Linked DNA regions of Homo sapiens: region 2 is linked to region 1. Evidence: promoter capture Hi-C in 16 types of primary human blood cells and fetal thymus (Javierre and others, 2016). All regions are on one chromosome and are shown on one strand. Each heading gives the region's core, a stretch centred on a gene start or on the middle of the fragment in contact. The rest is flanking DNA. Distances are from core to core; before and after follow the strand shown.

Evidence for each region. Contacts are between HindIII fragments. The CHiCAGO score rates a contact against its expected background, and 5 or more counts as called.
Region 2: a contact is called between a fragment that was not itself captured here and the fragment with the promoter of FPR3 in region 1, in 1 of 17 cell types (monocytes). The highest score is 7.9, in monocytes.

The regions. Positions count from the first base shown.
Region 1 is chr19:51,793,450-51,797,237 of GRCh38, reverse strand. It overlaps FPR3 (formyl peptide receptor 3), which reads right to left and starts at 2,081. Exons shown (of 2, transcript NM_002030.5): 1 at 1,907-2,081. The HindIII fragment of the contact is 12,110 bases long and covers 1-3,788 here.
Region 2 is chr19:51,698,928-51,702,715 of GRCh38, reverse strand. SPACA6 (sperm acrosome associated 6) reads right to left here. Exons shown (of 9, transcript NM_001316972.2): 3 at 990-1,058; 4 at 64-87. Among named protein-coding and RNA genes, the nearest start is that of SPACA6-AS1, 7.4 kb to the right of the region's middle. The HindIII fragment of the contact is 3,108 bases long and covers 205-3,312 here.

The DNA of each region.
Region 1 (3,788 bases), core at 832-3,331:
TGTCCTTAGCACTCCACCTAATGCATTTTCCCAAGGATGCTTATGACCCCCAGGCTGCCAAATCCAGTGAGTCCTTCTCAGTTTTTAAGACCTGATATCCCAATGACACAGGACCCATTGGATCACTTTCTCCCTTTTCAAACACATTTTTCCTATGCCATGAGATATATCCAAGAGATATGTGCACACAATACACTCTTGGTCGTCTCTACAGCTCGATTCTCTTCCTCTTTTTAGTCCAATTTACGGTGTTTTCTATTCTAAATTTGACTCTAAATGTTGGGGTATCTCACATTCTATAAATGATATCATCCAGTCTCTGGGATTAAACCATTATGCTGTCTTTTCATCTAAATTATCAGCCGTGGCCTCTCCCTGGCACTCAAGTCTGATAAAACCTCTCCCCGTGGGAGTCCCATAGACTCCAAACCTCACATGGTTTTACCAAACTGTTGATGTTCTCTGCCTCCCAGACCTGCCACTCTTCCAATATTCTGTATCTATTTGGAGATTAAATATTCAGTTGTTAAAGCTCCAGATCTAGAACTCACCTTTCATTTCTCTTTTCCTCACCACCCAACGCCATCCACGTCTTACTCATTCTATCTACAGAACATGCTGAATGCACAGCCAGAGCCATTGCCATCTCCACGACCGGTGTCCATGGCCCTGTCAGGCTTGGATATTTGCACAAGCCTTGCAAATAGCTTTTTCCTGGTCCTGCTGCCCCCTCCCCTAAGATCCATTCTCCAGACAGAAACCAAATGAGCTTTAAAAAGGTCCAATAAGATGGTGATGTTATTCGCAATACCTTCCGATGGCTTCCAGACTTCTAAGTTACCCTTATCTTAGGTTCCCTTATCCTAGGTTCCCTTATCCACTGCCACATGTGCCCTGTGCATCCCTCAGACCTCATCTCTGCACTCTCATCAGACACACTGGGCTCCACCCACTGGGCTCTAATTCCTTGAACTTGCAGCTCTTTGTCATCTCAGGGCTTCTGCTTTCTCTATTCCTTCTGCCTACCGTGCTCTTCGTCTTGAGCTTCCTGCACCTGGCTCATCCTGAATATTCATATTTCAGGTCAAATATTATTTCAGAGAGATCCCACCTCACCCACTCTGCAAAGCAGAATGCTCAGGTACAGCCTATCTCACCAGATACTTTTCTCCTTTATTTGTTTGTTCATTTATCTTCTCTCTTAAATACCCTCCACACTAGTACGTAAGCTCCACAGGACTATCAAGATCCTTCAATGCTACATCTCTACAATGCTACATGTCCAGTAGAAATATAATGTGTTAACTTTAGCTACATATGGGACTCAAAATTTTTTTGTAGCCACTGTTTTTAAAAAAGTAAAACACCTTTGGGGAAATTATTTTAGTAATAAATTTTATTTAATTACATATATGATAAAGAATTGGCCAGTCACATTGGCTCACGCCTGTAATCCCAGCACTTTGGGAGGCCGAGGTGGGCAGATCACGAGGTCAGGAGTTGAAGACCAGCCTGGCCAACATATTGAAACCCCGTCTCTACTAAAAATACAAAAAATTAGCCAGGCGTGGTGGCAGGTGCCTGTAATCCCAGCTACTCAGGAGGCTGAGGCAGGAGAATCGCTTGAACCTGGGAGGCAGAGGTTGCAGTGGGCTGAGATTGTGCCACTGCACTCCAGCCTGGGTGACAGCGCAAGACTCCATCAAAAAAAAAAAAAAAAAAAAAAAAAAAAAGAATGTTACTGGAACATGTAACCAAATTAAACACTGTTAATGAAATAGTTAACATTGTTTTCATACTAACGAAGTGGATTCTTCACTGGACTACGCTACTCCAGAGTTAGAAGGGCTCTGTCATATAGCAGGCATTTCAACAATAACTTTAAAATTTTCAGACCCCAACTTACCACCAGCTTAGATCCTTTTCCTGTGCCCAGTTCCTGGATTCCTGTGGAGCAACTCAGGCTCTAAGTACTTGTAAAAAGATGAAGTTATATGTTTGGTTTTAAGATCTTAATTGGCTTTGGTTATAAAGATGGAATCAGACAGCCTGTCATGCTATAAAACAAAATGAGTGTTTTGATAGTTAGAGCCAAGGAAGTTGGTTTTACAGGGATAGGAGGGCTAAAGAAAGCAGAAACAGAGAACAAAAACCTGATTGGTCATCTGGATGTTGCATTTTTTTTGTGCAGCAGGAATAGAGAGACAGCAATAAGGAACAACTGATTGATTGAAGTCAAGTTACCACAGATTGCTTTTTTTTTTTTTTTGTAAAGATGAAAGCAGACAGAACTTCATGTTCATGCCCACTGAAACTGGCCTGTTTTAGGAATTTGTCCATTTTCTCTCTCTCCTGATTTCTCAAAAGTTCAGATACATTAGTTTTGGTTTGGTGATGTGGAGTTTTAGTATGACTGACTCCATTTGGTTTGCTTTGTCGAACCTAGTACAATAGGTCAGTCCAAACCACTTACTTGCTGTTTTTATAGAACAGGCTTCAGCAGAGACTTAGTTGAAGGACACGGGGACAATGGAGCTGGAATCAATCCAGTGACACAAACTCAGGGTTTCTTACCATTCCCAGAAGACACCTTGGAGATGTTCTCAGACGATTTATCTTGGAAACTTATGTGTCTGAATGTTCCTTCACCTCTAGCCTTCTGTGGGAGACTGGAGTTCATCCTTCCAAATATCAAAGGCCAAGAAATCTGAGAGTCCAGGCCCTTTCTTTTCAGAGATTCAGGAAAATGAAAGAAACAATTACCAAGGTGAGAAGAATGAGAGGAAAAACAATAAAAAAACAAAGATGCACGGTGAAACAAAAACTCGATTCTCTACTTTCACAATCCTTCTGACCAAATATACTTTTTCTCTACACCAAGAAATTCTCCAATTCTCTGGGGACACCACCTGGGCCACCTGCAATTAAAAATTCGGTTATGATGCTGTCTACCTGGATTCAGCTCAGATCCGAAAAGCTAAAGGGCTCACTCCCACAAACTGTTCTCAGATCAGATCAGACATCTGTTGCAAGTCCCAGGTGGCTACTTGTACTTCTGACTGACAGGCTATAAATTGGGTGTTCCAATGACACCAATAAATTGCTAGAATGGCACACAGAACTCAGGAAAGCACTTTGTTTGCATCTGTTGCTTTATATAAGGAATATACCTCAGGAATAGTCCATTGGAAAGAGGCATATGGCAGGTATATGGCAGGGAAGGGGTTGGGTGGTGCATGGAGCTTCCATGCTCTCTTCAGGCAGCCACTCTCCCAGCACTCCTGAGTGTTCACCAATGTGGAAGCTCATCAAATCTCATTGTTCAAGAGTTTTTATGGAACTCAATCTCCAGTCCCTGCCTCCCCTTCCTGGAGATCAGTAGGTGGGGCTGACAGCTCCAACCCTCTAATCCCTTGGTCTTTCTGGTGACCAGTCCCATCCTAAGGCCATGATCTCCTTAGCATAAACTCAGCTATGATCAAAAGGGGCTGTTTATGAATAACAAATAATACTCCTATCACTCAGGGAATTCCAAGGGTTTTAAGAGCCCTGTGCCAGAAATCTGTGACAAAATCAAATATGCTTTGAGGTATTTCATACCTCAGAGTTACAAAGAGAAGCAGTAACTAGGAGCATGTAGAGAGGTAAGGAAGGTAAATGAGAGACACTGTACACTCCACACCATTGCCGAGATTAACCCCCTAACCTTCTGCCCCTAGGGAGATGCTCTATGGACTACTGATCTAAGGAGATGGGCTCTTTCTGAGTTTTTAAACACCATCAGAATG
Region 2 (3,788 bases), core at 509-3,008, 94 kb after region 1:
TACGTTTCGTCCCCGACCGCCTCCCTTACCCCGCAATTTCCAAGTTTTAGATGAAGTCCTTACCGCAGGGAGGGATGCAAGCCTGGGCTGTGGAGGAAGAGGAAACATCACTACCTTACAGTCATGGGAAGAACCCTTGCCCGATGCTCCCCTAGCTAATGTTACAAGGCCCGAAGCATTGCTCCGAGGGGGCGGGGCCAAGCTTTCGTCATAACCTGGGGGCGGGGTCAAGCCGGCTGGGTTCCACCTGGGGCCGGGGCCAAGCCTGAGCATTCCACTAGGAGGTCAGGCCCAGGACTGCTGCCAGCCTTCTACTTGGGGTTTAGAGGGAAACACACTGGTTTTCTGTAGGCCCTGATGGGGATGGGCAATCCAGGTGTATTCCACCGAGGAGGCGGGGCTAGATCCTGGGCGATCCTTGCAGGAGACCAAGGCTAAGGTGGTGGCCCAGTTAGAGAAGAGGCGTGGCCAGGTTAGTAGTAGTCCCGGAAAGGGGCTCAGTTGGAGACGAAACCTTTCATCGAAGGGGCGGGGCCAGATCAAAAATGGTCCACGCGGGGAAATAGTCGTCCCTCAAGGTCTGAGGCTCAGAGATGGGGCCAGGGGATTGTACGGGGAGTGGATGGGGGGTCTCAGGAGTGGGTTTCGTTTTGAGATGGAGTCTTGCTCTGTCACCCAGGCTGGAGTGCCGATCTCGGGTCACTGCAACCCCGCCTCCAGGGTTCAAGCAATTTTCCTGCCTCAGCCTCCTGAGTAGATGAGATTACAAGCATGCGTTACCACGCCCAGCTAATTTTAGTATCTTTAGTAGATATGGGTATCACCATGTTGGTCAGACTGCTTTTGAACTCCTGATCTCAAGTGATCTGCCCGCCTCAGCCTTCCAAAGTGCTGGGATTACAGGCGTGAGCCACCATCCCCGGCCAAAAGTGGGGTTTTCTAATTGTGTGTGTGTGTGTCTGGGGAAGGAGAGATGGAGTGTATTTTACCTTCTTTAAGCTGTGTAATGACCTTCTTCATTTTCTCCGCAGCATCAGGGAAGGCAACCTCAAAGGATCCTGGAGAGTGGAGGGGAGGACGGCCTGTGTAGTAAAGCCCTTCCCCCAGGGCTTGGTCCTTGGTCCTGCATTCTGATCTAGCCTGGCTAGGGCTAGGCTGGCCCTAGCTCACAGGACGTACTGTCATGGTATCTGCCCTTCCCTGGCCCCTCTTCACCCCTCTCATTACCATATTCTCTGCTCCTCTTCTCATCACCCGCCCTCTGTAGTTGAAGGCTAACAAGTCCCTAAGTCTCCTTTCTTCTGCCTCCTGAATCTCTCCAGGATGGAAGTCCTCCTGGACATCACCTGCATGTAGCTTGTTGGGGGGAGAAGGGGAGGATAAAGATCAAATTCCTCACCAAGGCCTATTAGGTCTTACATGGTTTGGCCTAGTTCCCCCTCCCTCCCTGTCCCATCCCTACTGCCCACCTTTCATTTCCTTTATTTTATTTTATTCAGACAGTGTCTCACTGTCACCCAGGCTGGAGTGCAGTGGTGCGATCTCGGCTCACCGCAACCTCCGCCTCCTGGGTTCAAGTGATTCTCCTGCCCTAGCCTCCCGAGTAGCAGGGACTGCAGGTGTGCACCACCACGCCTGGCTAATTTTTGTGTTTTTAGTAGAGATGGGGTTTCACCATGTTGGCCAGGCTGGTCTCGAACTCCTGACCTCAAGTGATCCACCCACCTCAGCCTCCCAAAGTGCTGGGGTTACAGGCATGAGCCACCGTGCCTGGCCTCATTTCCTTTAATATGAAAACCACCACATTCCCTAGCACCTCAGGGCCTTTGCACATGCTGGCTTGTTTTTAGCACATTTTTCCTTCTCCTAATCATCCTTCCATCACCACAAATCTAACCAAGTTCCCTGTTTTTGTCTCTCATCGCAATCATTTCATTCCTAGCTCTCATCTGTCTGCAATTACATATATTTATATATAGATGATGATCACTTATGTCTGTCTCGTAAGTAAATAAACATGTTCTTCTGTAGCACTGTGTCCTCTGGATCCTGGAGAGGGCCCTCAGTCTTAGAAGTGCTCAGTAAGTATTTGTACAATGAATTCCAGGATCCAACTTGAACTGGAGACCCCAGCTGGTGGCCTATGACCCAAATCCATCCCTGGGATGTGTTATATTTGGCCTGGAAAGTGTTTAAAAGAAAATGAACCAGTTGCCAACATATAAAATTTGGAATGTCAAATAAAACGTTTGGCATCTCTTTTTTACAAAGTTGGAAGAGCTGTAACACAGAGATCGCATTTCCATAAGGCAGCAATTAGCTGGAGATGGGTAGCAGTCACTCCCTTGAAATGGGGCACACACCGGCCACTTCTCCATAGTCCCCAGCCTCTATTCACTTCTATATTTACCCATCTTTTACTCTTTTATGTTCCTTGTCTTTGTAGGTGTTTGTTTTGTTTTGAGATAGAGTCTCGCTCTGTTGCCCAGGCTGGCGTACAGTGGTGTGATCTTGGCTCACTGCAACTTCCACCTCCCAGGTTCAAGTGATTCTCCTGCCTCAGCCTCCCCAGTAGCTAGGATTACAGGCACCCACCACCATGCTCGGCGAATTTTTATATTTTTAGTAGAGATGGGGTTTCACCATGTTGGCCAGGCTGGTCTCAAACTCCTAACCTCAGGTGATCCGCCTGCCTCGGCCTCCCAAAGTGCTGGGATTACAGGTGTGGGCCACCATGCCTGGCCTTGTGTTTTGACCACTGCAATGGCCTCCAAATTGTATGGGTTTGTGGCTTGTTCCAGTGGAATAAGAATAGACAGCTGACTTGATCTCGTGGTGATTTGTGGAAATCAGTAATGTGGCAGGGTTTTATCGGCTAAATCGTGCCGCCCACCCCCCATCCCCCGCAACCAAACTTGTATGTTGAAGTCCTAACTCCCAGTACCTCAGAATGTGACTGTACTTGGTTCTTAAAGAGGTGATTAAGTTAAAATGAGGTCATTAGGGTGGGCTGTAATGCAGTATGATTGGTGTCCTTATGAGAAGAGGAAATTAGGACACAGAGATGCACACAGGGACATATGAAGGAAGGCATCTACAAGCCAAAGAGAGAGGCGTGAGAAGAAACTAACCCTGCTGACACCAAAACCTTGGTCTCAGACTTCTAGAAGGCAGAAACTTCTGTTGTTCGAGTCACCCAGTCTACGGTACTTTGTTACAGTGGTCCTAGCAAACCAACACACAGGAATTGTTCACTGCCTCCAAATACCTATATATCTATAACCTATATCCACAGAACACAGATAAAAAGCTTCATCTCCCAGCCTTCCTTGCAGTTGTGGTCATGTGACCAAGTTGTAGCCATAGGATGCAAATGGATGTGTTATGTGAGTCACAGGAGGTGGCCTTAAAAGGGAGGTGGTACCGCACCTGGAATCACAGCTACTCGGGAGGCTGAGGTGACAGGATCACTTGAGGCCAGGAGTTCGAGACAAGCCTGGGCAACATATCCAGACACCATCTCTAAACAAATTTTTATAAATTAGCCAGGTGTGATGGTGTGCTTGTAGTCTTAGCTACTCAGGAAGCTGAAGTGGGAGGATGGTTGAGCCCAGGAGTTCAAGGCTGTAGTGAGCTATGATTGCACCACTGCCCTCCACCCAGCCTGGGCAATAGAGCAAGACCCTGTCTCTAAAAAACAAAGACAGAGAAGGTGGTGCCATCTTATTGTTCCCCTCATCCATCCTGCTGCCTGAAAATTTGTTTTGATGGTTGGAGCTCTAGCAGCC